Regions from separate parts of the Homo sapiens genome. Here region 1 is linked to region 2. The links are contacts of gene promoters, found by promoter capture Hi-C in blood cells and fetal thymus (Javierre and others, 2016). All regions are on one chromosome and are shown on one strand. The core of a region is centred on a gene start or on the middle of the fragment in contact, and the rest is flanking DNA. Distances in the headings are between cores, read along the strand shown. Region 1 has its middle 12 kb from the start of FAM178B. Region 2 holds the start of KANSL3 (KAT8 regulatory NSL complex subunit 3).

Region 1 (3,852 bases), core at 241-2,740, 360 kb before region 2:
CTATAATCTCAGCATTTTGGGAAGCTGAGGTGGGAGGATTGATTGAGGCTAGTAGTTTGAGACCCCCCTTCTCTACAAAACATTTTTTTAATTAGCTAGATGTGGTGGTGTACCCCTGTAGACCCAGCTACTTGGGGTGGGGGTGTGGGGATGTCAAGAGTGGGGAGGCTGAAGTGGGAGGGTTCCTTGAGCCCAGGAGGTCTAGGTTGCAGTGAACTGTGATTATGCCACTGCACTGCAGCCTGGGCAACAAAGTAAGACCCTGCCTCAAAAAAAAAAAAAAAAAGGCTCGTAATCATTTCTTTTTTTTTTTCTTTTTTTTTCTTTTTCTTTTTTTGAGACAGAGTCTCGCCCTGTTGCCCAGTCTGGAGGGCAGTGACACGATCTCAGCTTACTGCAACATCTGCCTCCCGGTTTCAAGTCATTCTCCTGCCTCAGCCTCCGGAGTAGCTGGGATTACAGGCACCTGCCACCATGCCCAGCTAATTTTTGTATTTTTAGTAGAGACGGGGTTTCACCATGTTGGCCAGGCTGGCCTCGAACTCCTGACCTCAGGTGATCCACCTGCCTTGGCCTCCCAAAGTGCTGGGATTACAGGTGTGAGCCACCGCACCCAGCTTTCATTGTAACTATTTCTATTTATTTATTTATTTATTTATTGAGACAAAGTTTCGCTCTTATTGCCCAGGCTGGAGTGCAATGGGGTGATATCATCTCACTGCAACCTCCACCTCCTGGGTTCAAGCGATTCTCCTGCCTCAGCCTCCCCAGTAGCTGGAAGTGCAGGCATGCGCCCCCACGCCCAGCTAATTTTTTGTATTTTTAGTAGAGATGGGGTTTCTTCATGGTGGTCAGGCTGGTCTCAAACTCCCGAAGTCAGGTGATCCACCCGCCTCAGCCTCCCAAAGTGCTAGGATTACAGGGATGAGCCATTGCGTCTGGCCCATTGGAACTTTTCCTTTCTTTCCTTTCTTTCCTCTTTTTCCTCTCTTTCTCTCTTTCTTTCTTTCTGACGGAGTCTCCCTCTGTCTCCCAGGCTGGAGTGCGGTGGCGCCATCGGCTCACTGCAAGCTCCGCCTCCCGAGTTCACGCCGTTCTCCTGCCTCAGCCTCCTGAGTAGCTGGCACTATAGGCGCCCGCCACCACGCCCGGCTAATTTTTGTGTGTGTGTGTATTTTTTAGTAGAGACGGGGTTTCACCGTGTTAGCCAGGATGGTCTCAATCTCCTGACCTCGTGATCCACCCGCCTCGGCCTCCCAAAGTGCTGGGATTACAGGCGTGAGCCACCGTGCCCGGCCAGAGTTTCGCTCTTGTTGCCAGGCTGGAGTGCAATGGCGCGATCTCGGCTCACTGCAACCTCCACTTCCCAGGTTCAAGTGATTCTCCTGCCTCAGCCTCCCGAGTAGCTGGGATTACAAGCAGGCGCCACCACGCCCAGCTAATTTTTGTATTTTTAGTTACTAAAAATACAAAGGATGAAGAGCAGAAGGGAAATCCCCAAATTCAAGCAAGCACAGAAATCCATGATTGGAGACGGGGTTTCGCCATGTTGGCCAGGATGGTCTCAATCTCTTGACCTCGTGATCCGCCCGCCTCTGCCTCCCAAAGTGCTGGGATTACAGGCGTGAGCCACCGTGCCCAGCCCATTGTAACCATTTCTATATGTACGTTTAAAAATGTCCTTTGGAGACTTAGAACTTCCAAATTATTTATTTTTTTACATAAGGGCACTTAAATGAAAGGTGATTAAAAAGACATCTCTCCGGCCGGGTGCGGTGGCTCGGGCCTGTAATCCCAGCACTTTGGGAGACCGAGGTGGGCAGATCACGAGGTCAGGAGATCCAGACCATCCTGGCTAACACAGTGAAACCAGGTCTCTACTAGAAATACAAAAAAATTAGCCAGGCGTGGTGGTGGGCGCCTGTAGTCACAGCTGCTCAGGAGGCTGAGGTAGGAGAATGGCGTGAACCCAGGAGGCGGAGCTTGCAGTGAGCCGAGATCTCCCCACTGCACTCCAGCCTGGGCGACAGAGGGAGACTCTGTCTCAAAAAAAAAGTCTCTCCTACATTGCTGTCTGCAAAACATCAGATGTTACGGATGTTAGACTGCATCTCAATGGTAAATCTTCACTGACAGGTTTACTTACATCAATCATGAAAATTCTGTTTGTAGGCTGGGTACGGTGGCTCATGCCTGTAATCCCAACACTTTGGGAGGCCGAGGCAGGCTGATCATGAGGTCAGGAATTTGAGAACAGCCTGGCCAACATGGCAAAACCGCATCACTACTAAAATCACAAACATTAGCTGGGCATGGTGGTGAGCACTTGTAATCCCAGCTACTAGGGAAGCTGAGTCAGGAGAATTCCTTGAACCTGGGAGGTGGAGGTTGCAGTGAGTGGAGATGGCGCCACTGCACTCCAGCCTGGTCAACAGAGTGAGACTGTCTCAAAAAAAAAAAAAGAGAGAGAAAATTCTGTCAATACAGAAGTGAATTGTGGACGTAAAATGGTCATGCCATTTGGTTAATGGCACTAGGCAGCATTCATACAACAACTAATGACAAAAATTCACAGCTAGTGATATATAAAATAAAGTATTTTTGCAGTAAACAAACAAAATTGGCATGGCTTCCAGCTGAGCTCACCTTCACCCCACTCACCTTGTAAATGGGGTCATCCTCTGAGTTAACACAGTGGAATCCCCCTCCCGTCTCTCTCTCATGTCTGTCGGTTCTTCCCCAGCAATAGTCCCTGGAGTGGCCCCTATTAAGGGCCTTGACATCCACTCCCACACTCAATTTTACAACCACCTCCTTTGGGACTCCCTGTTTCGCACCCCTCCTGTCTCTGGCCTCTGTTCCTTGAGTCCTGAACCTGAACTGGATTCTGTCCTGCCCTGTAAGGTCCTCCTCAGGCTGGCTGACACCTAGGAGTCCTGCACTTGCCCACTGATAAGCGACATCTCAGGCCTCAAGCATTCATGCCTTTGCACATTTTATTCCCTTTTCCTTGAATGCTTTTTCTCCTCTTGGAGATAAATAGTAAATTCCAACTCAAATTTCAAGACTTTGGGCAAATGTTACCTTGCCTGAGGTCATCGGACCCTTCCAGGCAGGGTCCCCATGTCACTTCTGTGTGCTCCTGCAGCCTCCGGGCACACCTCCATTGTGGGGTTGAGTACATGGCAAGGTTATTATCTTTTTGCACATGTTTTGAGTCTAGGCAGTGTGGCAGGTGCTCAGTCTTTGTTGAATGACTGCATAATGAAGGGTGCATTATACAGGACAATTGTTTCTCCATCTTTTGATATACCTGGTTATTCAAACCTACATCCATTTTGTTACATAATGTCCTTGTATAAAATCACACATGAGAAATTACTTTTGGAATTGAAAATAAGGAAAAACACGTTATTTCCTTCTATTGTAGAAACTCTATGTTATAAAGAGAAGCATGGAGTCCTTTGTGTTCCCCACCCGCTTCTCTTCTTCTCTTGCTTCCAAGAAGCTTAGAGCCAGGTTTAATGTTCATTCACAATAATCACATTAGCCTTCCTGAACAGAATTTGGCTTTTCCTCCTCTTTCTGGTTCTGATTTTCTATCTTTTCTCTAGTAACCTCTTTGAAATCAGGCAGTGGAATATGGAGGGGAAGGAATGGGTTCTGTAATCAGAGAAACATGCATTCAAATGGCCCTGCACCTCGTGGCTGTGCAACTTGAGCAATTTACTTAACCTCTCTGAACCCCCAATTTCCCTTTTATAGGGTGATTATAGGGAATACGTTAAAATGTATGTACTGTATATAGCACATAGTAGAGGATCAAAACATGATGATTACACAAAGTGGGGC
Region 2 (4,266 bases), core at 952-3,451:
GAGGTCAGGAGATCGAGACCATCCGGGCTAACACAGTGAAACCCCGTCTCTACTAAAAATACAAAAAATTATCCGAGCATGGTGGCACACGCCTGTGGTCTCAGCTACTCGGGAGGCTGAGGCAGGAGAATCGCTTGAACCAGGGAGGTGGAGGTTGCAGTGAGCCGAGATCACGCTACTGCACTCCAGCCTGGGCGACAGAGAGAGACTCTGTCTCAAAAAAACAAAAACAAAACAAAACAAAAAACTCATTAATAAGCAAATAAATGGGATAAGATACCATTTATCACCTCTTAAATTGGCAAAGAATGAAACAAAATGATAAACGTGGTGTGCTGAGGAAAGGAAGGGGCAGAGAAAAGATACAAATCTGTTTTTAGTGGGAATGGGAATATAAGTAGAGAAATAGCAGAACCCTGGCCCCAAACAAGCGCCCAGGAGACAAAGTTAAGGGTAGGGAGAGGTGGGGCAGGGGCTGCTCTATTTGTGATAATTTCTATGGCCTTAAGCTCCATATTTCTAAACAGCACTTTTAAATAGCATTCCTTGATTTTTTCAAATCTATGAGGCATTTTCCCAGTTTTATTGTTTTCCCCGGGGCTCTCCCTCCTGGTCTTCTCTTCTCCCCCAGCTGAGACTAGTGGTCCCCAGTCCTGCAGCATAGCTATTGTCCTGGGATACTCTTTGCCATCACCTTCAGAATTCCTCGTCTGCTTCTTGTGTTAGACCCTGCTTCCCCGATCCTATGCCTTCCGTCTTCTCAGTTTACCCTCTCATCTTTGTGGAACACAGCTTTGAGTGGCTTTCTGAATGTTTCGAGTGTTTGCATGTCTGTACCTATCTTTTTTTTTTTTTTGAGACAGAGTCTTGCTGTGTCGCCCAGGCTGGAGTGCAATGGCGCGATTTTGGCTCACCGCAACCTCTGCCTCCTGAGTTTGAGAGATTCTCCCACCTCAGCCTCCCGAGTAGCCGGGATTACAGGCATGCGCCACCACACCTGGCTAATTTTTGTATTTTTAGTAGAGACAGGATTTCGCTATGTTGGCCAGGCTGGTTTTGTACTCCTGAACTCGTGATCCACCCTCCTCAGCCTCCCAAAGTGCTGGGATTACAGGCGTGAGCCACCGCACCCGGCCATTTCTTTTTTTAAATAGAAACGAAGTCTCACTGTTTTGTGCAGGCTAGTCTTGAACTCTTGGGCTCAAGCAATCTTCCCACCTTGGCCTCCCAAAGTACTGGGATTATAGGCATGAGCCACAGATCCCGGGTGAGATTTATCATCTTGAACCATGTCTCTTGCTGTCTTGTCTCATGTCTCTTGATGTCATGTTGTCAGTCAGTCAACCAAATAACCAATTATTGATCAGTCAACATTTGAACAATTACCTATGTTCTGGGTGTATGTTCTCTGGAGGATACAAAGGTTAATGTCCCTGATTTTGAGGATCTACTCTCTCTACACAAAACACATAGGAAAGTTAACCACACAAAACAATCTAGGGTCAGTAACAAAATTCTTTTTTTTTTTTTTTGAGACGTAGTCTCACTCCGTCGTCCAGGCTGGAGTGCAGTGGTGCAACCATGGCTCATTGCAGCCTGGACCTCCCAGACTCAAGTGATCCTCCCACCTCAGCCTCCCGGGTAGCTGGGACTACAGGCATACACCACTATCACACACACCTAATTTCTAAAATTTTTTGTAGATACGGGGGTCTCATCATATTGGCCAGGCTCATCTCAAACTCCTGAGCTCAAGAGGTCCTCCCGCCTAGGCCTCCCAAAGCGCTGGGATTACAGGCGTGAGCCACATTAGGTAAATTCTTAATGAGTAAATTCAGGTGGCTGCCCTGGTGGAGGTGGACCGTTGGGTGCTCGACCGCCCAGAGGGCACAAAGGACCAACACGGTGGGGGTGGCGAGAACTGGGGCCGTAGAAGCCAGCCTAGTCCTCCGCCCTCGCTTTCCCTACTGAATATGCGCGAGGGGGAAACTCCAGCCTAGTTGTTGACTTTCTGCTTCGGACATGCTCGCGTGTTCTTGGCTCTCCTCTTCCGGACAGAGGCGCCGGAGCTTCATCCGTTCCGGGCTTTGCCGCTCACCGCCTCTCCCTTCCCAGGCCGTAACCCGCTTCCGCGTTTTACTCGGTGCCCGCAGCGCCGGGGCGTGGAGGCGTTAACGCGCACGCGCTTAGGGATCCGGCCGTGGCCGAGCGCGCGGCCGTAAGACCGCGGGTGAGAGCAGCGTTGGCTTCGAGGGGAGTGGCGGGCCGTGGGGATCGCGGCCGTGGTTGGGACGGCCGGGGGTCTCGGCGAGGGCTTCAGGGCTCCCGGGGCATGCGGGGGCCCGGGCTAGGGCCGGCTGCCGGTGCTGGTCGGGCGGGGCGGGTCGGGCCGGGGGCGGGCTGGCAGGGGCCGCGTCTGGGCCTCCGTGACGCGGACGCCGAGCCCTGCCCCAGGGAGCGGGAGGCGGGAGGCGGGGGCCAGGCGGCTCCTCCTCGTCGCGAACTCTGGATGACCTTGGCCAAATCGCTTCAGTTCCCCGAGCTGGCGACTTCGTCTGTAAAATGCGAGTCATAGCCCTGTCTCCTAGATGGGCCGTGTGGAGGCTCAGTGGCGGGAACGCCTGCGGGGCAGCCGGGGTCCTGGGCGGTTTGCTAGGGACGCCTCACTGGGGGTGAGGGTGAAAGGGCTTCCACGGGGATCATTTTGTCACAGGCTTTGTTGGGGGGGCAGTTTTCATTTTTATGTAAACAACTCTGGAATATTACGAAGTACTTAACAGAACTTTTGTTTCGCACAATACGAGAGGCTTGAAGAAGTGGAGCCCTAGCTGGGATTCGCTTTTTTGAGGCCGGCGTTGCCCTGCCCTTTAGGGGTGCCCACGCTCTAGCTGCGGCCCCGGCTCCCTTCGCATTGTCGTTAGAGGATGGTGTGAAGCAACAGAGATCCTTAGCTTTCAACGAATTCATATTTGTGATTTCCTGTTTGTCAAAACCCTTCCTGCCCACCTAGGAAGTGGTGCTGGCCAAGCAAGTTTACTGTCTGTCCACGCGAGGTCTTTCTGAACCTTGGGGTCGGTGAGCTCTCCCGTTAGGTAATTTCAGTTCGCTAGAGGTTGAGTATGGGACAACTCGTGGCACCATAGTTTTTTTTTTCTTTTTTTTTGGTGTTGGTGTGGGATTCCACGAACCGTCCCCACCAGAGGTCTGCCGTGAAATGGATACTCAATAGGAATGATAGTAGGTTACAAAAGTAAGCATGTTAGATGGTGTAGATTGGGAGAAATTTAGGATATTGGAATTGACCTAAACTGAAACTTTTCACTGCAGGTGACTAGCATGCAGATACCCATGCTCTGACTTTCTGCCCCTCCACTGACATGGCCCACCGGGGTGGGGAGAGGGACTTCCAGACTTCAGCTCGACGCATGGGCACCTCGCTGCTCTTCCAGCTTTCAGTGCATGAACGGGAGCTGGACCTGGTTTTTCTGGATCATAGCTATGCCAAGCCTTGGAGTGCCCACCCAGATGCCAGTAGTGCCCGCCCCACCCGCATGCTCTTTGTCACTCCCCGGCGGCAGCACGAAAGTACCATGTGAGTTGGGGCTTCTAAGGGCTGCTGGTAACCTCACTGGGCAGTGATCAGATGGGAATTTAGAGAGGATTTTCTCAGGATTGACTGGGGGAGATTGTATGAGGCATTTGGATGTTAAATTCAGGCATCTCTTAAGCAGCATAAGGATAGCAGGCTTGAATGTGGCTATCTCTGTGAGACAGCTAACAAGAGTTAGGAAAGCAAGACGTGCAAATGAAAAGCAGACAACCTATTCCACTTAGATAGTAGGACGTGTGGAAAGGGGAAAATCGTAGAGGGTTATTTAACTGGTGAAGAAAAAGACTGAAAAGTTGATTTTAAAAGATTACCCACAGGATACGACTCTTTTATCACATTAGTCCAGTGCTCTGGGTTGCTTGACAGTGGCAACAATAGCCTTTTTATAGTAATGCATTTTGCTTTTCTTGGTTTCACACACGAAGGTTAGGAGCCAATTCCCAAGACGTTGCTTTTTCTCTTCCCTTGTTACAGAGCTGCTATCCATAGGTTAATCTAAACCCTTCTTATGTCTAATGATATTTTCACCCAGCCTATGTTATAGGGTAAGGAAGTTTCATAAATTGACTACCTGATGAGTGATACAGTTACATTTGGTCTAAATAAACCTGTTTGCCAGTTCTTTTGCACTTTAAGGCATTCTAATTATGTTTCAT

Evidence for each region. Contacts are between HindIII fragments. The CHiCAGO score rates a contact against its expected background, and 5 or more counts as called.
Region 1: a fragment that was not itself captured here is called in contact with the fragment with the promoter of KANSL3 in region 2 in 1 of 17 cell types (non-activated CD4 T cells); the score reaches 5.3 in non-activated CD4 T cells.

What each region holds. Positions count from the first base shown.
Region 1 is chr2:96,996,553-97,000,404 of GRCh38, reverse strand. No RefSeq gene overlaps it. Among named protein-coding and RNA genes, the nearest start is that of FAM178B, 12 kb to the right of the region's middle. The HindIII fragment of the contact is 4,040 bases long and covers 1-3,510 here.
Region 2 is chr2:96,636,247-96,640,512 of GRCh38, reverse strand. KANSL3 (KAT8 regulatory NSL complex subunit 3) reads left to right here and starts at 2,201. Exons shown (of 21, transcript NM_001115016.3): 1 at 2,201-2,230; 2 at 3,328-3,592. The coding sequence starts at 3,378. RefSeq lists a silencer at 2,272-2,481. The HindIII fragment of the contact is 21,308 bases long and covers 1-4,266 here.